Linked DNA regions of Homo sapiens: regions 2, 3, 4, 5, 6 and 7 are each linked to region 1. The links are contacts of gene promoters, found by promoter capture Hi-C in blood cells and fetal thymus (Javierre and others, 2016). All regions are on one chromosome and are shown on one strand. The core of a region is centred on a gene start or on the middle of the fragment in contact, and the rest is flanking DNA. Distances in the headings are between cores, read along the strand shown.

The links. Contacts are between HindIII fragments. The CHiCAGO score rates a contact against its expected background, and 5 or more counts as called.
Region 2: a fragment that was not itself captured here is called in contact with the fragment with the promoter of KLHDC10 in region 1 in 1 of 17 cell types (total B cells); the score reaches 5.3 in total B cells.
Region 3: a fragment that was not itself captured here is called in contact with the fragment with the promoter of KLHDC10 in region 1 in 17 of 17 cell types (fetal thymus, total B cells, naive CD8 T cells and 14 more); the score reaches 46.7 in fetal thymus.
Region 4: a fragment that was not itself captured here is called in contact with the fragment with the promoter of KLHDC10 in region 1 in 2 of 17 cell types (megakaryocytes and erythroblasts); the score reaches 6.5 in megakaryocytes.
Region 5: a fragment that was not itself captured here is called in contact with the fragment with the promoter of KLHDC10 in region 1 in 1 of 17 cell types (megakaryocytes); the score reaches 6.6 in megakaryocytes.
Region 6: a fragment that was not itself captured here is called in contact with the fragment with the promoter of KLHDC10 in region 1 in 4 of 17 cell types (megakaryocytes, endothelial precursors, erythroblasts and 1 more); the score reaches 22.1 in megakaryocytes.
Region 7: a contact is called between a fragment that was not itself captured here and the fragment with the promoter of KLHDC10 in region 1, in 8 of 17 cell types (megakaryocytes, endothelial precursors, M2 macrophages and 5 more). The highest score is 15.9, in megakaryocytes.

Annotation. Positions count from the first base shown.
Region 1 is chr7:130,068,951-130,071,935 of GRCh38, reverse strand. It overlaps KLHDC10 (kelch domain containing 10), which reads right to left and starts at 1,402. Exons shown (of 10, transcript NM_014997.4): 1 at 1,127-1,402. The coding sequence starts at 1,292. RefSeq lists a silencer at 1,198-1,367 and enhancers at 1,468-1,657, 1,688-1,887. The HindIII fragment of the contact is 10,740 bases long and covers 246-2,985 here.
Region 2 is chr7:130,856,064-130,859,048 of GRCh38, reverse strand. No RefSeq gene overlaps it. Among named protein-coding and RNA genes, the nearest start is that of MIR29A, 19 kb to the left of the region's middle. The HindIII fragment of the contact is 680 bases long and covers 1,131-1,810 here.
Region 3 is chr7:130,833,043-130,836,027 of GRCh38, reverse strand. All of the region lies in intron 3 of LOC105375508 (a long non-coding RNA gene), which reads right to left. Among named protein-coding and RNA genes, the nearest start is that of MIR29A, 42 kb to the left of the region's middle. The HindIII fragment of the contact is 1,195 bases long and covers 937-2,131 here.
Region 4 is chr7:130,810,570-130,813,554 of GRCh38, reverse strand. The region is part of intron 3 of LOC105375508 (a long non-coding RNA gene); the gene reads right to left. The region is part of intron 2 of LOC105375509 (a long non-coding RNA gene); the gene reads left to right. Among named protein-coding and RNA genes, the nearest start is that of MIR29A, 65 kb to the left of the region's middle. The HindIII fragment of the contact is 4,325 bases long and covers 1-2,985 here.
Region 5 is chr7:130,774,194-130,777,178 of GRCh38, reverse strand. All of the region lies in intron 3 of LOC105375508 (a long non-coding RNA gene), which reads right to left. Among named protein-coding and RNA genes, the nearest start is that of KLF14, 41 kb to the right of the region's middle. The HindIII fragment of the contact is 7,695 bases long and covers 1-2,985 here.
Region 6 is chr7:130,713,673-130,716,657 of GRCh38, reverse strand. No RefSeq gene overlaps it. Among named protein-coding and RNA genes, the nearest start is that of KLF14, 19 kb to the left of the region's middle. The HindIII fragment of the contact is 312 bases long and covers 1,425-1,736 here.
Region 7 is chr7:130,690,187-130,693,171 of GRCh38, reverse strand. No RefSeq gene overlaps it. Among named protein-coding and RNA genes, the nearest start is that of TSGA13, 5.1 kb to the right of the region's middle. The HindIII fragment of the contact is 3,861 bases long and covers 1-2,985 here.

The DNA.
Region 1 (2,985 bases), core at 153-2,652:
ATAAGCAATTGTCTCATTAAATGTGCTAAATTCCCTTTGTCATCTTCAATTTAATCAAATAATAATTTTTGACTAGAAGTATAAGGTACAGTCTTAAGCACAATTCATAAAAACCAATTCATCATGTTCTCAAAACTCATCAGCTAAACAAATATATCACTAATATAATCAATATTATTCACAAAAAACACGATGAATAATTAACACATCATTCCTGATAGTTCTTTTCATAGTAAAAATAAGCTTGCCCAGTGGGATATTTGACGTTCTCTGCATTATTTAATTCCCTACCTTCCTTCTACTAGATTGAATATTCAATTACAAACATACCTCTTTAAAATTGTCTACACATACATATCCACTTGATTTTATTTTGTTTTCAAAAGCATCTGAACTCAAGGCTAGGGCACTGTAGACCAAAATGTCAAATAATTGTATTGGGTACATTTTTCCAATTCTCAGTTGTTTTTATATTGTAAACACAGCATAATTGTGTCACTAAGTATATTTTTGATCTTCACTTTCTCCCCTTAAAACCTAGACACCATTATCCTGTCTCTGAACATTCCAAAATATTAATAATCCAACTAGTTTTCCCTAATCCTCTAGGTTCTCTTTCCCATACACTCCCCAGCCAACACTCCCCCACCCCTTTCTTCCGTTTCAGAATGCCTCTTACACACACGCCCCGTGTAGTTTTTACAAAATCACTCCTTGGAATGCGTTTCCTTCTTCTCTCCTTAACTTGGCACCCTTTTTGAAATAATTTCCCACAGCTAGGCGCCAATGTCTTTCATTTACAAGATCAAACTGCGGAAGGGGAAGAGATTGGGAATCGAGTAACCGAAACATTTGGAAATGTCAATGAGACAGTGGCCTCTCCTTTGAAAAGAAAACACAACTCTCAGCACAGAGCTTTCAACAGAGCACAGATACTTTTCTTCGCTGTGCTCCTGTTCCCTCCCTGACCTCAAAGACACCTTCCCTTTTCTCTGATCCCCAGTCCCTCTGCTATGCGTGGGGCCTGCCTTTCCTCCTCCCAAGGAAAAGCAAGCCAGGGAGAAAAAGAAAAGGTAGCAGTCACCTTCCCGCCCGCAAGCGGTCAGGACCCTGTCCCACGACTCACCTGGCAGGTGCGGCCGCCCGGAGAGTTGCACGAAGCGGTTGAGCTGGCCAGTCCCCCGACCCCCGCTGCCCCCACTGCCCCCGCCGGCCCCGCTACCTCCGCCACCAGCGCCGGCGGCGCCTCCTCCCCTCCGGCGGTTCCTGTCCCAGCCCTGGGCGGCCGACATGACCCGCTAACGATTGCCGCAGCCCGGTCCCGTCAGCGCCTGACCCAGCGGAACCAGCGGAGCCTCCTTCCTGGGCTCCTCCAGAGACCCAGGAGACAGGGGAAGGGGGCAGCGCCCGGTCCCACCAGAGACCAATGACTTACCGCCTTGGTGAAAGGCAGCCAATGGTCAGTCGTTTTCTTGGTAGGTGGCGGGAGGCGGAGAGAAACGTGGTAACCATAGCTATGGCTAAAAAAAAAAAAGTAGGGGGAGAGAAAGGCAGAAGCAGCCACTCCTAGCTCTCATCGTCCGCTCTGGGCTGGCCGGCGTCACCCCGACTCCTGCGGGGCCAGGCGGGCCAATCGAAGACCGAGTGTCAGAGGCCGCGCCTGCGGAAAGACTCCCGGGGACGGCCAGTGCCTCAGTCTTGGTTAGGATTCAGGAACTTTTTCCCATAAACATTGCAATCAGACACTGGATATACGCATAATACACATATTTGGGGGCAAGACGGTATTCTGCCAGCTTTTCAGATTGAGATCCCATTCACTGATGGTTGACACACACAAAGGGCTTGCTTGGGGTCCGGGTAGGTGAGGGGACCCAGGGGCGGAGTCAAAGCTAAAATGTAAGAACCAGATATTCCTGGGTTTCATTTGTCTTTCAGTCGGCTTAGCTGCATTTGTCCCTGTATAAGCCACGTCCCAATCAAACAGTTTTAAACCTGGTTAACAAATATGGGAAAATGTTCACTCTCACCTGTAATCTTAGAAATACAAAATAAAACCCCAATGAGAAACCATTTCTGGTTTATTACATCAGTAAAGACTTTTCAAATAACACCTGGCAGTGTGTGGAATGCCAAGAAAAAGGTATTCTCATAGATGGCTGATGGCTCTGTAAATATTTTTGTTCGCTCAAACTCCTTTTGGCTAGTAGAAAATTTTAATCAGCTTGGAAGATATATAATCAAGAGGAAATGTAAAATTAAATAAAAGGCAGCAACGGGTATGGAAGATCAAGATCAAAGAAAATTTTTAATGTGCCGATCAGGAGTTTCTATTGTTCCAAAATTAAACAGAAATTTTGGCTTGAAACTTACTGGGCGCAATGCAGACTGGGAAAACATACTATACACTGATGTTTCTGAATGATAAGGAAAAAGCATATCAAATTCCTCAAGGGAAACAAAACTTTTCAAGGTCCTTAGATGTGACAGATTTTTTTTTCTTTTGCATTAGAAGAACCTTACATGGTTGCAGAGAAAAAAAAGAAACTCTGCTGGAGCTGAGGACAAATACCCTTTGTACCTGGTGTGCAAATTTCTGGTCGCCACTGGCACTGCCTCCTTGTTTTCCTACTTCCAGTCCCTGTAGGCAGAAATGTTTTAGTCACTAGCACCATAGCACGCTGCTTATGAAAATGTTTGAGACTTGAAAAAAAAAAAAGCCTATGGTTCTAAAATATAAAAACCAAAATTAATATATGTTAACTGTTTTTTTTTTTTTTTGAGACGGAGTCTTACTCTGTCGCCGAGACTGGAGTGCAGAGGCATGATCTCGGTTCACTGCAACCTCTGCCTCCCAGGTTCAAACAATTCTCCTGCCTCAGCCTCCCAAGTAGCTGGGATTACAGGCATGTGCCACCACGCTCTGCTAATTATATTTTTAGTAGAGATGGGTTTTCACCATGTTGGTCAGGCTGGTCTCCAACT
Region 2 (2,985 bases), core at 221-2,720, 790 kb before region 1:
TGGGTTTGGTTTGTTCTCTTCTAGTTGCTTGATGTGCATAGTTAGATTGTTTATTTGGAGTCTCTATTTTTTAAAAATGTGGATATTTACTGCTATAAAATTCCATGTTAGTACTACTTTTTCTGTATCCTATAGATTCTTGTATGTTTTGTTTCCATTTTTATTTTTTTCAAGAAATTTCTAAATTTCCTTCTTAATTTCTTCACTGACCAACCGGTTGTCTGGAAACATGTTGTTTAATTTCCATGTATTTGTACAGTTTTTAACATTCCTCATTTTATTGACTTATAGTTTTACTCTATTGTGGTCAGAAAAGATACTTGATATAATTTCCACTTTTTTGTATTTGTTGAGACTTGTTTCATGGTCCAACATATAGTCTGTCCTGGAGAATGTTCCATGTGCTGATGAAGAATGCGTATTCTGTAGCAGTTGGGTGAAATATTCTGTAAATGTCTGTTAGGTCCATTTGGTGTACAGTTTCACTCTGATGTTTCTTTGTTGATTTTCTGCCTGAATGATCTTTCCATTGTCAAAAGTAGGATGCTGAAATCCCCTCTTACTGCTGCATTGCAGTCTATCTCTCCCTTCAGATCTATTAATATTTGCTTTGTATATTTGGGTACTCTGGTGTTGGGTGTGTATATATTTACTATTGTTATATCCTCTAGCTGAATTGACCTCTTAATCATTATATAATAACCCTATTTATCTCTTTTTACAGTTTTTAATTTAAAGTCTATTTTAGCTCATATAGTTACTCCTGCTCTTTTTTGGTTTCCATTGCATGGGATATCATCTTTCTATCCCTTCACTTTCAGTCTATGTGTATCTTTACAGGTGAATTGAGTTTCTTGTAGACAGCATATTGTTGGGTCTTGTTTTTTAATCCATGCAGCTACTCTTTGTTTTTTTAATTGGAGAATTCAGTCCATTTACATTCAATGTTACTATTGATAGATAAGGCCTTACTGCCATACTGTTACTTGTTTACTAGCTGTAGGTAACTCCTCTCTTCCTTTCTTTGTCTTTCTTTGTGGTTAAGTGATTTTTCTCTGGTAGTATGTTTTGTTACTTTTTATTTTTAGTCTATCTGTTATAGGTTTTAGCTTTGTAGTTACCGTTAAGCTTACAAAACAAATCCTACAGTTATAACAGGTATTTAAAACTGATGCCAACTTAATTTTGATCATAAAAAAGCAAAGAAACAACCCAAACAGGTTAACTCCCTTCTTCCTCCACATTTACAGTTTTTGATGTCACCAATTACCCTTTTTTATTGCCTGTCTCTTAACAAATTATTTTCAAAATTATTTTAATAGTTTTGACTTTCAGTCTTTTGGCCAAAGATATAAGTGGTTTATCACAATTACAATATTACTATAATAATTACGTTAGAGTCCTTTTCTTTCAGTTTGAAGAATTTCCTTTAGCATTTTTTGTGGGACAGTTCTGGTTGCTATAAATATAAAGTCCGTCTGGGATAGTCTTTATCTCTCCATTTCTGAAGAACTTTTTTTGATACAGTATTCTTGGTTGGCCATTTTTTTCCTACAACACTCTGAATATTATCATCTCCCTCCTGGCCTGAAAAGTTTCTGCTGAGAAGTCTGATGCCAGGAGTATTGGATCTCCCTTATATGTTATTTGCCTCTTTTCTCTTGCTGCTTTTAGAATCCTCTCTTTGTCTTTCATTTTTGCAAGTTCGATGTAATATGTCTTGGGATATTCTTATTTGGGTTGAATCTGATTGGTGATCTTTGATCTTCCTGGCTTTGGTATTTGTATCTTTCTCCAGGGTTGGAAAGCTTTCTATTATTTCTCTGAAGAAGCTTTCTACCCCTTTGTCTTTCTCAGTTCCCTCTTTAACTCCAATAATGAATATTTTCTTTTTTGATGTTGTCTCATACATATTGTAAGCTTTTTTCATTATTTTTATTCCTTTTTTTTTCCTCTGTGTATATCCAAATAATCTGTCACTGATTACTTCTGCCATTGATGCTCTATATTGCATTTTTCATTTCATTCATTGTATTTTTCAGCTCCAGGATTTTTTGATTTTTAAAATTTTTTCAATGTCTCTATTAAATTTTTCTGATACATTTCTGAATTGATTTTCTGTTTTCTGGAATTTCATTGAGTCTCCTTAAAGCAGCTATTTTGAATTATTTGTATGAGAGATCACACATCTCTATCACTGTAGGGTTGGTCGCTGGCACCTTGTTTTACCTCATTTGTGAGGTCATATTTCCCTGAATGTTTTTGATGCCTGTAGAAGTACAACAATGTCTACATATTTAGGAATTAGGTATTTATTTTAGTCTTTGCATTCTGGCTTTGTTTGTGCCTGTCCTTCAGAGGGCCTTTCGGATTCTAAGCTGACTGACTGTTGTGTTCCCTGAGCCTGTGACCACTGCAGCCAGATATCTCAGCACTAGAGGACACTCCAAGCCCAGGCTTGCCGTGAGTTTCATGAGGACTCTGAGGTTGACATGGCTTTCCAGCCCAGATGGACCTAGAGAAGACCCCAGGCAGATACTGGACTGAGGGACCTGAGTCCAGAAAACTGTCCTTGTGGCCCAGACAAGTGTGTCTCCCAGCAGATCTCTGCATTTCTCAACTGCAGCAAGAGGAGATGGAGTTGAGACTGGACCACTTCAGGATCAGCTGTGAGAAGGAGCTGGTGGGCCTATCTCATTGTCTCAGATGAACATGCATCACCCAGCTGGTCCCTGTATGAGTGGGGTAGTTCCTAGACTGAAGCAGTAGGGGCTAGAGCTGAGACTGGGCCCCATGGAATGTGCTATGAGAGACTGGAGAGCCCAGTCTCAGCTCAGAGGGGTTTATATCACCCAGCAAGTTTCTGCACAAATAAGCTAGTTTCTTGTCTACAGCAGGAGGGGCTGGAGCTGAGTCTGGGTGTCCTTGGGATCTGTTGTGGGATGGAAGCTAAAGAGTCTGTCTTGTTGGGCCAGACAAGTACAC
Region 3 (2,985 bases), core at 285-2,784, 760 kb before region 1:
TTGGGGAGGCCAAGCATGGAACCATGGAGCCCACTTAGAAAGCGGGTACTGGTGAGAGATGATGGTGCCTTGAACTTCAGTGGTAGCAGGCAAAAAATAAGTAAAATTTGGGGAATGTGTTTTGCAGGTGCACCTGGCAGAAGGCAATTGAGGGATCACAGGTGACCCTTATGTCTCTCAGTTGAGCTACTATTTGATGAGGCTGTTTACTGAAATGGGGGCAAATGAGAACAGGCTTGCAGAGAGGGAAGGAAGTTAATTTTTGCTGTCTTAGCTTTCAAATCCATTTGACATCCACGTGCATATGTTAGATGAACTACTAGAGAGGCAACCCCATTTCTCAAGGGAATGCCCAGAGCTAAAAATGTCTACATTTGGGAGTCACTAGCATATAAGTGATATTTAAGTCGAGGGACCAGATTAGATCATCTAGAGAGGGAATTTATTTATTTATTTATTTATTTATTTATTTTTCTTGAGAGGGAGTTTCGCTCTGTCACCCAGGCTGGAGTGCAGTGGCGCGATCTTGGCTCACTGCAACCGCTGCCTCCCAGGTTTAAATGATTCTCCTGCCTCAGCCTCCCAAGTAGCTGGGACTACAGGCATGCGCCACCACACCCAGCTAATTTTTGTATTTTTAGTAGAAACGGGGTTTTGCCATGTTGGCCAGGCTGGTCTCAAACTCCTGACCTCAGGTGATCCACCCGCCTCGGCCTCCCAAAGTGCTGGGATTACAGGCATGAGCCACCACACCCGGTCTAGACAGGGAATTTAAATAGAAAAAAAGATGTGGAAATAGGTGAAAAGACAGACAAACGTGTGGTCACTAGAGCCAAAGGAAAAACATATTTTGAGTGCTTTTGAGAGGTCGAGTGAGACGTGAGTATTGACAGTATTTTAACATGGAGGCTATCAGTAGCTTTGACCAGAAAAGCTTTAATGGAGTTAGGGAGGGGAAAGCCAGATTGAGGAAGTTGAAGAGAGAATGGAGGAGAATGAAGAAAAAAGAAAAGAAAAGAAGAGAGAGAGAGAGAAAGAAAGAAAAAAGAAAGAAAGAGAATTTCCATAAGTTTTACTCTGATAGGGAACAAAAAGTGAGATGGAGCCTGGGCGGAGTCCTGTGGGAAGGGCAGATTTTTCTTCTCTTAAGATGGGAGATACTTGGGTGTGTTTATTTGCTGATGCTGTTGAGTAGGCAGGAGTGAACTGAAGACAAAGGAGATTAATAGATTAATTCACAAGGGAAGAAATGGGTCTGATCCAGAGGAGAGATCCTTCAACCAAGGATGGCAAAGGCAGGCAGATGTTGGTCTTACTGATGAAACTACAAAGGATTGCTCTTTAATTGTGGCTATTTTTACTGAGTTATGAACAAAATAAATGGAATAATATTTGATGAATATTAAATAAAAACTGAATAAAGACCTGAAACTGCATATTGAAAGGATGCCCATGAAGCAAATAATGGAAGGCCCTATATGTTTCTTGGTTAATATTAAATTTTAAGAGCAAAGAATAAATTCTATCAGCATGTAAACAGAAAATAAAGTTTACAAACAAAGGAAAAAGTCAGGCTGCATTTTGGTCCAGCCATGATGGAATAGTTTATATCAAGATTATAAATGTCCTACAGAAAACAACTGTAAAAGATATACCATATACATTAAAAAACTGTTTTAAATTTTTGGAGAGCATGTAACTAAGACAGGATTTGAGGAACTGTGATACCTGAGACCAGTGAGGCCAACCTCATGTTTACTGCCTTTTTCCTTGAAGGCACTTGCTATTTCACAGCAAAGCAACGGAACAGGGGTCCAACAGAAACAGCAGATGGAATTTAGGAAATATCTGTTTCATAATTCAAAAATGATACAATTGTATAAGCAGAAAATTAAAAAGAATCAACAGATGGACGATTAGAAATAATGAATTAGCAAGGACATGGGACACAAGACTTATAATAAAAAGTCAATATTTTTTACAGTGAGGCTCAAAGGACTTTGTTGAAGGCTATACTCTAAAATACTAAGGCATTAAATGCATATTTTAAATTTGCCCTTTAAGTTTTGGGGTGGTTGAGAAATTCAGTAAAAAATATTTCCAAATAACATGCAGAAGTTGTTTTTAAGCTTAAAAGCTCATATTTTAGCTACACCCACACAGATGATGTAGAAAACAGCTGAATTTCGGTGTATCTGAATGGTCCAGATTATGTTCCTTCTGAAAGAGACAGTTTTACGTACGATCATTTTTCATATGAAGCATATAAAAAGACACCCAGAAACTACCACGTATTTACCACATAGACAATGTCCATCTTTATCTGTAATTCAAAACCATGTAATTCCTTTTATGCAACAGACTGCAGTGTGTGAGAAGTATGTCAAGAGAAGAGTAAAAAAACAACCAGGAGCTGGGCGCAGTGGCTCATGCCTGTAATCTCAGCACTTTGGGAGGCCAAGGCGGGCGGATCACGAGGTCAGGAGATCGAGACCACCCTGGTTAACACGGTGAAACCCCGTCTCTACTAAAAATACAAAAAATGAGCTGGGCGTGGTGGCGGGCACCTGTAGTCCCAGCTACTCAGGAGGCTGAGGCAGGAGAATGGCGTAAACCTGGGAGGCGGAGCTTGCAGTGAGCCGAGATCGCGCCACTGCACTCCAGCCTGGGCGACAAAGCGAGACTCTGTCTCAACAACAACAAAAAAACAACCAGGAGTACATTCATTAAAAAAAAACTCAGCTGAGTGCGGTGGCTCAGGCCTGTAATCCCAGCACTTTGGGAGGATGAGGCAGCCAGATCACCTGTGGTCAGGAGTTTGAGACCAGCCTGACCAAAATGGTGAAATCCCCTCTCTACTAAAAATACAAAAATTAGCCAGGCGTGGTAGCACACGCCTATAGTCCCAGCTACTCGGGAGGCTGAGGAAGGAGAATCGCTTGAATCCAGGAAGCGGAGATTGCAGTCCGTCGAGATTGTGCCACT
Region 4 (2,985 bases), core at 217-2,716, 740 kb before region 1:
AACTTAAACAAATGTACAAGAAAAAAACAAACAACCCCACCAAAAAGTGGGCAAAGGATATGAACAGAAACTTCTCAAAAGAAGACATTTATGTGGCCAACAAACATATGAAAAAAAGCTCATCACCACTGGTTATTAGAGAAATGCAAAACAAAACCACAGTGAGATACCATCTCACACCAGTTAGAATGGCGATCATTAAAAAGTCAGGAAACAACAGATGCTGGAGAGGGTGTGGAGAAACAGGAACGCTTTTACACTGTTGGTGGGAGTGTAAATTAGTTCAACCATTGTGGAAAACAGTGTGGCGATACCTCAAGGATCTAGAACCAGAAATACCATTTGACACAGCAATCCCATTACTGGGTATACCCAAAGGATTATAAATCATGCTACTATAAAGACACATGCACACGTACGTTTATTGCAGCACTGTTCCCAATAACAAAGACTTGGAACCAACCCAAATGCCCATCAATGATAGACTAGATTAAGAAAATGTGACACATATACACCATAGAATACTATGCAGCCATAAAAAAGGATCAGTTCATGTCCTTTGCAGGGACACGGATGAAGCTGGAAACCATCATTTGCAGCAAACTAACACAGGAACAGAAAATCAAACACCACATGTTCTCACTCATAAGTGGGAGTTGAACAATGAGAACACATAGACACAGGGAGGGGATCATCACACACTGGGGCCTGTTGTGGAGTGGGGCGCTGGGGAGGAGATAGCACTAGAAGAAATACCTAATGTATACGATGGGTTGATGGGTGCAGCAAACCCCCATGGCACATGTATACCTATGTAACACACCTGCGCGTTCTGCACATGTATCCCAGATCTTAAAGTATATATATATATATATATATATATATATATATATATATATATATATATATATATATATATATAAATACTAGGTAGCAACAAAAGAAAAGTCATGTAAAACATGAGACTTGAAATAGAAAAAAAAAGAAAATTAGCTATGAAATGTGGCCTTGGATTGTCCAATGAATGGAGCTAAGTATACAGATGTTAGTAGCTGCATCCAGTTGAAGCTATTTGACATGGGAGAAGTGTAGGGTATAATAGGACATAGTTTTTTTGTTTTGTTTTGTTTTTTTTGAGACAGAGTCTCGCTCTGTCATCCAGGCTGGAGTGCATGGCAGATCTCGGCTCACTGCAAGCTCTGCCTCCCGGGTTCAAGAGATTCTCCTGCCTCAGCCTCCCAAGTAGCTGGGACTACAGGCTCCCGCCAGCACGCCCAGCTAATTTTTGTTATTTTTAGTAGAGATGGGGTTTCACCATATTGGCCAGGCTGGTCTCGAACTCCTGACCTTGTGATCCACCCACCTCAGCCTCCCAAAGTGCTGGGATTACAGGCGTGAGCCATGGCGCCTGGCCAACAGGACATACATTTTTAAAGATATATGTGGTAGCCAGCCTCCAAAACAGTCCTCAAATGCTTCCTGCCTTCTGGTATTTACCTTTGGGTAACTGTATCAAGAGTGGACCAAGAGAATATGGAAGAAGTATATCACTTTTTATACTGACTGATAATTCACAGACAAAGTCTGTGAATTTTAAAGTGTATAATTTGCTGATTTTTAGTATGTTCACCAAATTGTGCAATTACCACCACAATCTAGTTTCAAAATATTTTCATCACTCCCAAAAGAAACTCTGTACCCATTAATAGTAACTTCCCATTTATCCCTCTCTCCCATGCACTGGCAACCACTAATCTACTTTCCATCTCTATGGATTTATGGATTATAGATTTATGGAAAAGTCATAAATAGTTAATTCAGGAGCTTTCATATAAAGGAAATCATATAATAAGTAGCCTTATATATCTGGCTTTTTTCATTTAGTGTAATCCATGTTGTAGCGTGTATAAATACTTCATTCCTCCTTATGGCTGAATAATATTTCATTGTATGATTATACTACATTTTGTTTATCCATTCATTAGTTAATGGACATATGGGTTTTTCCCACCTTTTGACTGTTATGAAAAATGCTGCCATGAACTTATTTTTATTCTTTGTTGTTCATCTACATTAGTATTTAGGACTATGAATTTTCTAGATCTGATACTCTCATGTCCAGCTTTATTGTATTATGAGCAGAAGCTGTGATACTGCAATTTTTTTTTTACTATGGATTGACATTTTACTTGTAGCTTAGTAGCTAATCAATTTTGGAAACTAATCATGGGCACTTAAAAACAAGATGTATGCTTGGCTTTCAGGTGTGGAATTTTATATATCTCTATTAGATATACTTATTAATTACCTTAGCAAAGGTAGGAGGTAGTGAGTGTAAATATGCCAGTTTCCTCATCTTCTATAATAAAGAGTTGACATAGTTCAAAGCTGATAAATCAATATGAGAAATATTAGCCTATTATTTAAAGATATGACAATAATATTGGGTAGCCAAACCTAGGTGTGAAGGAAGGATAGGGAGGTGAGGTGTCGAATTATACTTATTTCCTCATTTTTCAAAGTGGGAATTCAATATAAATCCAATTATAAGGTAAAAAATGACTTAGTGTATTATGTCAATAACCAAAATATGTGAGATAACTGTGCCATTATAAGAAAACAATACTCACATTGGATCAGAAAGTAAAATCATTTATAAAGAACACACCTAAAACAAAGTTACTCATAAACTTGAAAAATAAGAGGACAGGGTGATTCATACATGGCAAATTAAATAAAGAGAATGCAGAGACTTTAATATCAGGCAATGGGAAACTGAAGACAAAGGACATTAAATGAGGCAAACATGCCATTCCACATTGATAACTTAGCAGTCATGACCACTCACACCCAAATAAACAATCAAAACAAATGAAGAAAATATTTAATTGCACTTTTTGAATTGTCTTCTTAGTGGGTTCTCTAGGGATTACAATAGGCATCTTAATTTATCTCAATCTACTTTATGCTAATGCTCATAATTCT
Region 5 (2,985 bases), core at 161-2,660, 710 kb before region 1:
AATTAGAAATACAATACCATTTACAATTCCACAAAAAAGGGAGGTACATGCGAACTAACAAAATACAGCATTGCTTTTATAAAACATAGCATTAAATTGTATGCTAAAAACTATAAAACACTAATAAAAGAAATCAAAGTAAATATAAATTGAGAGACACACCATGTTCACAGAATGAAAGACTCAATATAGTAAAGATGTCACCTCTTCTCAGATGGATATACAGGTTTAATACAATTCCTATAAATATCCCAGAAATATTTTTTGTAAGTTATTCCAAAATTTATATGGAAAGTCAAAGAAGTAGAATGGCTAAAATAACTGTGAAAAACAAGAATAAATTGAAGGAAAGTACTCTACTCCATTTAAGACATTATACAGATAAAGTAATCCAGATGTGTGTTACTGGCAGAGAGATAGACACATAGATCAATGAAAGAGAATACAGAACCCACTAACAACTAACTTTTGAGGATACAAAAGCAATTTAGTGATGAAAGGATACTCTTTTCATCAAATAATGTGGGGGCAATTGGATCTCCATATGCAAAAAGATAACCTCAACCAAAACCTCACAGCTTATACAAAAGTTAATTCAAAACTGATAATAAATTAAATATTAAATATAAAACTATATACCTTTTAGAAAAAAAGAATGGGAAAAAATCTGCAGTACTTAGGACTCGGGGAAGAATTCTTAGACATGGCACCAAAAGCATGATCCATAAAAGAAAAAAATTGATAAACTGGATGCCATCAAAAATAATAACTTTTGCTCTGTGAAAGACACTGTTCAGATAATAAAGAGACAAACTGAAAACTAAAAGAAGTTATTTGCAAACCACATATCTGATGAAAGACTCATGCTTAAAATAGTTAAAGCATTCTCAAAATTCAACAGTAAAGAAGGCACCCAATTAGAAAATGGACAAATGACATGAAGAGATATTTTACTGAAGAGAGCACATGGATGCAAAAAGCATATTAAGAGATGTCCAACATCACTATTCATTGGAGAATTAAAAATAAATACCATTACGAGATATCACCATGTACCTATTAATACAGCAAAATAAAAAGAAATAGTAATAACATCAAATGGTGACAAAGATGCAGAGAGACTGGATTTCTCATACATTGCTGGTGGGAATGCAAAATGGTAGAGCAACTCTAGAAAACAATTCAGCAGTTTCTTCAAAAACTATACAGTTGACCCTTATTATCCTTAAGGGATTGGTTTCAGGTCCCCCTGCAGATATCAAAATCCATGGATGCTCAAGTCCCTTATATAAAATGGCGCATCTTATCTGATCTTAGAATCAGGGTTGGGCCTGGTTAGAATAGAAAATAAAATGGTGGAGTATTTGCATATAACTTACATATATCCTCTCATACTTTAAATCATCTCTAGATTATTTACAATACCTAATACAATGCAAATGCTATTTCAATAGTTGACATACTGTATTTTCTAAAATTTATATTATTTCCTATTGTTGTATTGTTATTTTTATGTTTTTTCCCAAAATATTTTTGATCCATGGTTGGCTGAATTCATTGATGTAGAACCCACGGATATGGAGGGCCAACTGTATGTACATTTACCATATGACCCAGCAATCACATTCCCAGGCATTTATCCCAAAGAAATGAAAACTTAACTTCACACAAAAACCTGTGCATGATTTCCATGATTGTTCATAAAAACTTTATTTGTACTAGTGAAAACCTAGAAAAAAACAAAAATGTACTTCAATAGGTGAATAGTTAAACAAACTTTAGTACATCATACCTTGGAATACTTCTCAGCAATAAAAAGTAAATGAACTTTTGTTCATTTACAATTTAAATGGGGTTTCAGGGCATTATATTGAGTCTTTTTTAAAAGGCAGCCTCAAAAGGTCACATACTGTATGATTCCACTTATGTAAAATTCTGAAAATGACAAAAATCATAGGGTTGGAGAACAAATTAGTGGTTGTCAAGGCTAAAAGACGGTAGGGAGTGGAGTGGATGTGACACAGAAAAGTAGCATGAGGGAGGTCTTTGTGGTGAGGGGGATAGCTCTGCACCTTGATTGCAGCAGTGGTTAAAGGAAGCTACTCTTGTGACAAATGGCATAAAACTATATACACACATTGTAACAATGTCAATTTCCTGGCTTTGCTATTATACTGTAGTTAGATAAGATCTAACTATTGAACAAAACTGGTTGAGGGGTACATCAGATCTCTGTACACTATTTTTGCAACTTTCTGTGAATCTTTATTTCCAAAGAAAAAGTTTTACAAAAAGTACATTTTGGACTGGAATTCTAAATTTGCCACCTAAATAATTTATTTATTAGAAATGGGGGTCTTGCTCTGTTGCTCAGGCTGGAATATGGTAGTGTAATCACAGCTCACTGCAGACTTGACCTCCCAGGCTCAAGCAATCCTCCCACCTCAGCCTCCCATGTAGTCAGGACCACAGGTGCATACCACCATGCCTGGCTACTTTAAAAATTTTTTTTTATAGAGATGTGGTCTCCCTATGTTGCCCAGGCTGGTCTTGAACCCCTGGCCTGAAGCAATCCTCCTGCCTTGGTCTCCAAAGTGCTGGGATTATAGCCGTGAACCACTGTGCTCAGCCAAGAAAGAAAGGAGAAGGAGGAGAAGGAGGAGTTGTTGAAGGAGGATGAGGAGGAGGAAGAGGAGGAGGAGGGGAAGGGGAAGAAGGGTAGGAGGAGGAGGAAGAAAAACAACAACAAGAAAAAGAAGTGGAGGAGGAGGAAGAACAACAACAAGAAAAAGAGGAGGAGGAGGAGAAAAGGGATGGAGATCGGGGAGGGATTACCACCAATAAAATCTTAATCTGAAAGGCAACAATGTCTCAGCATTAGAATATCTATTAATATAATAAACAAGGTAGTTGTATTAATCACAACTTCCCAAAAGTAAAGAAGAAAACTATATGATCCCTTTAATAGATGCCCCTAAAAATATC
Region 6 (2,985 bases), core at 331-2,830, 640 kb before region 1:
CCTTAGTTCCATTTAGTACCATTGGTTGGGCAGTTTGGCTCCAAGAAGCCCAGAAAACCTTATTGAAGACTTTCTCTACCTTCCTTAGTTTTGTTAAACAAATAACTGCAGGATGAGGTTGCAGTTACTGTGGTCACCTAGGGCAAAAGTTGTTCTCTTCTTTCTGGACCACCAAGCTATTGAGTATGTGCCCAGACTATGCTGCTGTACTAACTGCCTCTCTGAGAGGCACCACCCTAATGCACCTGTCCCCAGGGCACTCTTAGCACAGATCACAGATCAAATTTTACTAGGAATGGTTGCTGTAGGGGAAGGGAGAATCCAGCATCCTTAGTCCCATACAGATTTTCCATGGTCCTCAACTTGGAACTCCAGGCAAATTTAAATTGGGTACTAAGGGCCAAGCATGGTGGCTTATGTCTCTAATCCCAGCACTTTGGGAGGCCAAGGTCGGTGGATCACCTGAGGTCAGGAGTTCGAGACCAGCCTGGCCAACATGGTGAAACCCTGTCTCTACTAAAAATACAAAAAATTAGCTTGGCATGGTAGGGCACGTCCGTAGTCACAGCTACTCAGGAGGCTGAGGCAGGAGAATCGCTTGAACCTGGGAGGCAGAGGTTGCAGTGAGCCAAGATCACACCACTGTACTCCAGCCTGGGTGACAGAGAAAGACTTTGTCTCAACAAAAAAAAAATTAAATTAAATTAAATTAAATTAAAAAATAAATTGGGTTCTAAGGATAGAGGCCAGTCTTTTTATCTCCCAGTTGGAAACTGGAGTGTGATTACTATTGTATGCTAGCATTTTATACTTAAAACTGTTTGACCTTCATAAAAGAGAGAATGTAGTCCCCTGTCTAGGTCCTATTAGTATTTAGAGTATCCTTGGCCATCTCACAGAGCCAACGTAGGATCTGGATCCTAGGGGGAGAAGACGTTAGAAGCTTCTGTCTCCCTAGTGAGAAAGATACATATGTTGAAATCCTTTAATTCTGCTAAAGCACCTGTATTAGATACAATTGCTTTGGCTGGAAGCAACAGAAAACCCTACAGTAACTTAACAAATAGAGTTTTATTTTTCTTATATAACAAGAAATTTGGAGGAAAGTGCTGCTGTGATTTGTTCAGTTCACTCTATACTGGCAGGTTCAGCATCTCTTATTCTGCCATATCGTGGCCACAGAACAATAGGGCCAGCTCTAGGCATCTTACTCATGTTTAAAGCAGGAAGAAAGGTAAGGTATAATTTGAGCCACAGTGCACAAGTAATCCCAGCTACTTGGGAAGCTGGGGTGGGAGGGTCACTTGGGCCCAGGAGTTTGAGACAAGCCTGGGAAACATAGCAAGACCCCATCTCAAAAAAAAAAAATAGAAAGTAAGCTGGAACCACTGGCATCTCTCCATTTTACTCAGAAAGCAAAAGCTTTCCAGAATTGTTCCTACCCATTCCAAGTGATGAGTGGCATTTTCTTTCACTTCTCAAGGGCCAGTACTGGTTCACATAACCATCTCTAGCTGCAAGAAAGTATGGGAAAATGCTTAAAGGATTGTTGTAATGAACTTAATCTCATTGTGGTCCATATCCTGATGCCTCCCTGTAGAAAACTGAGGTTTGCTTTGCAGAGAATAAAGGGAGGATATATATTTTTGGTAGAAAATTGAGAGAATCTGCCATAGCACCCTACTGACCTTTCAGTGGCATGTGCCATCCTGAAGTAGTTGTTTACTTTTAAAGCTTGGGGGGTAGACTAGTGTCTACCAGTTGGAAAACGGGAGTGTCTACCCCCCAAGCTTTAGGCTCCCATATATCATAGTAAACTACTGACCCATTGAAAAAATATGAATATATCATAAATAAGTAGGGGCAGAGATTCAGCCCTTTGATTCCCCAGAATGTTTAATGAGTCTATTTTTACATATTTATAATTACTCAAATTACCCTTACAAATTAAAGCACAGGACTTATTAAAATTGGCAAATCAAACAGGTGACATGCCTGCTATTTGGTTATTACAAACATTAGCATCTGGCCTCTCTTTGAAATTGCACATACCAATCATTGCTACAAATATCAGACAACATTATCTTTTCCCTACCCACACTCTCCTAAACAAATAAGGAACAGGAGGATGGGAAGGAAGAGAAAATACTTTCCTTATTTTTAGGGGCTTGCTAATCTTAAATTGTAAGTAGCTGTCCCTGCCTCTGACAGCCAGTCAGTGCTGCCTTGACCTTTAGTAAGAACCTCCTGCTTTGGGGGCCATATTTCAGACTCTTAGAGCTGACATTTATTACTTTCTAATTGCTGATTGACACACGATGATCTTTGACTCGTTAAGGTTTGTAAGAAACATTATTTCTCTTGAAGATACTTTCTCTGTAAGAATGTGGCCCGGCACGGTGGCTCATGCCTGTAATCCCAGCACTTTGGGAGTCCGAGACGAGCAGATCACCTGAGGTTGGGAGTTCGAGACCAGCCCGACCAACATGGAGACCTTGTCTCTACTAAAAATACAAAATTAGCCGGGCGCGGTGGTGGGAGCCTGTAATCCCAGCTACTCAGGAGTCTGAGGCAGGAGAATCACTGGAACCCAGGAGGCAGAGGTTGCGGTGAGCCGAGATCGCACCATTGCACTCCAGCCTGGGCAACAAGAGCGAAACTCTGTCATAAAAAAAAAAAAAAAAAAAAAAAAAAAAAAGGAATGCAAGGGGATGGGAGCTGAGGCAGGAGAATCGCTTGAACTCGGCAGGAAGGCGGAGGTTGCAGTGAGCCAAGATTGCGCCACTGCGCTCCAGCCTGGGCAACAAGAGTGAGACTCCATCTCAAAAAAAAAAAAAAAAAAAATGTAAGGGGAGGCCCAGCGTGGTGGCTCATGCCTGTACTCTCACCACTTTGGGAAGCCAAGGTGGGAGGATCACCTGAGGTCAGGAGTTGGAGACCAGCCTGGCCACCATGGTGAAACCCCGTCTCTACTAAAAATACAAA
Region 7 (2,985 bases), core at 274-2,773, 620 kb before region 1:
CTCCCTGGTTCAAGCGATTCTCCTGCCTCAGCCTCCCGAGTAGCTGAGATTACAGGCACGCACCACCATGCCCAGCTAATGGGATTGTTTGTTTTTTCTTGTATATTAAGTTCCTTATAGATTCTGGGTATTATGCCTTTGTCAGATGCATAATTTTCAGTTTGCAAAAATTTTCTCCCATTCTGTAGGTTGTCTGTTTACTAAATTCAACATCACTTAGCATTAGATAAATGCAAATTAAAACCACAATGAGATATCATCTCACACCAGTCAGAATGGTTATTACTAAAAAGTCACAAAATAACAGATTCTGGCAAGATTGTGGAGAAAAAGGAATGCTTATACACTGTCCTCAAAGACCTAAAGACAGAAATACCATTTGATCCAGCAATGTCATTACCAGGTATATACCCAAAGGAATATAAATCGTTCTATTATAAAGACACATGCACATACATGTTCATTGTGGCACTATTCATAATAGCAAAGACATGGAATCCACCTAAATGCCCATCAGTGATAGACTGGATAAAGAAAATGTGGTACATATACACCATGGAATATTATGCAGTCATGAAAAAGAATGGGATCATGTCCTTTGCAGGGAAATAGATGAGGCTGGAGGCCATCATCCTTAGGAAACTAACACAGAAACAGGAAACCAAAAACAGTATGTTCTCACTTATGAGTGGGAGCTAAATGATAAAAACACATGGACACACAGAGGGAAACAACACACACTGGGGCCTATCAGAGGGTGGAAGGTGGGAGAAGGGAGAGGATCAGGAAAAATAACTAATGGATACTAGGCTTAATATCTGGGTGATGAAATAATCTGTACAACAAACCTCCATGACACATGTTTACCTATGTAACAAGCCTGCACATCCTGCACATGTACCCCTGAACTTAAAATAAAAGTTAAAAAAAAAGAGGAGGAGAAGACATGGGATTTCTCACTGCTGTCGGCAGAGAATGTCTGAATGGGGATGCATATCCACTGCTCCTTCATGTATCATCCCGCCATGTTGGAAACATTCAGAAATTTGCCATGTTGGGCATCTTCAGTCCCAGAGTTTTTCCTGAGACCACCTTCTATCCCTTGCTGTCCATCTTGTACATTTAAAACCTCATTTCCCCCCCACCCAGTTTTGTTTCTCCTTTGGTCCCCATTTTCCTGACACTCCAGTGCTAAATTGAATGTAAGTACTGAGTGGAGAGACAGCTTCCACTTTCGTAAGTAGATTTCCCCACATTTTTAATAGACAAATCTACAGAAAAATTGGATGGCCTTGATTCCTAATTCCCAGATTCCCAGCCTCCTGCTCTTCTCTGTATTCCTCCACTTCTGGCAGCTTCTTAGCTCCCTATTCTTGCCAGAGCAGCTATTGCTGCTGCTATATTCTACTCCTCATAAAATGCATTAGCCCTAAAAATCATTTTCCATTCATTCATCTCTGAATAATGCTAGCTTTGTTGAGTCTTGGTGTTGGTCAATACATGAGATTAATGAATTTATAAACTCTGCTCCTGCTTTCTTACCAGAGATGGAGGGCAGGTTGCTAGGCAAACCTCCCTGCCCAGTCCCCAGTTTCTATCTGGCTTTCATTTTTTGCTTTGCTGGGGAGATAACTTTCTCAAATTCCTACTTACATATTCTCTGGTATCTGAGTCTATGTAGACTATGTAAAATAACAGTTGTAGCATTCACTGTAGTCAGGATGTTGATTTAGGTTGGTGCAAAAGTAATATTTGAGGTGCCAATTACATCTCTTTCCCTTACCGGTTCTGAAGCAGTTAGTAAACACATGCAAAAATCTGGTAAGTTCAGAATATCAGCTTTCTGCTAGAAGTTGGTTTGGAGACTGGCTGGGGCCTGAACATACATTGGGCTTCCTAAAACATCCCCCTGAACTGGAAAGATTTACCCAGCCACTGATAAATGATAGGCCTCTCCTCAAGAAAGCAAGAGCTTCATGTGTCACCAGCAGGCTGTTTAAGAAAGAAAGAGTGGGCCGGGCACAGTGGCTCACGCCTATAATACCAGGACTTTGGGAGGCCGAGGGCAGATCACGAGGTCAGGAGATCGAGACCATCCTGGCTAACACGGTGAAACCCTACCTCTACTAAAAAAATACAAAAAATTAGCCAGGCGTGGTAGTGGGTGCCTGTAGTCCCAGCTACTTGGGAGGCTGAGACAGGAGAATGGTGTGAACCCAGGAGGTGGAGCTTGCAGTGAGCCGAGATCATGCCACTGCACTCCAGCCTGGGTGACACAGCAAGACTCCATCAAAAAAAAAAAAAAAAAAAAAAAAGGAAAGAAAGAAGGAAGGAAAGAAGGAAGGAAGGAAGGAGAGAAAGGAAAGAAGGAAGGAAGAGTGGCTAGGTATAGTAGCTCATGCCTGTAATCCCAGCACTTTGGGAGGCTGAGAGAGGAAGATTGTTTGAGGCCAGGATTTCAAGACCAGCCTGGGCAACACAGTGAGACCATGTCTCTTTAAAAAAAAAAAAAAAAAAGCTGGGCATGGTGGTGCATGCCTGTAGTCCCAGCTACTCAGGAGGCTGAGGTGGGTGGGTGCCTGAGCCCAGGAGTTTGAAGCTGCAGTGACCTATGATGATGCCACTGCACTTCAGCCTGGGTAACAGAATGAGACCCTGTCTGAAAATGCAAGAAAGAAAGACAGAAAGAAAGAGAGAGAGAGAGAGAGAGAGAGAGAGAGAGAGAGAGAGAGAGAAGGAAAGAAAGAAAGAAAGAAAGAAAGAAAGAAAGAAGGAAAGAAAGAAAGAAAGAAAGAAAGAAAGAAAGAAAGAAAGAAGAAGAAAGAAAGAAAGAAAAAGAAAGAATGAAAGAAGACAAAAATGGGGCAAACTACCCTTGCTTGGCATTCTGTGCCACTACCTTTTTTCATGAAGGGTAGATGCTTCTTTCCACACTTCCTTACTTTCCATACCAATACTTCCATAAAGGTAGCCGTTTCTATTTTA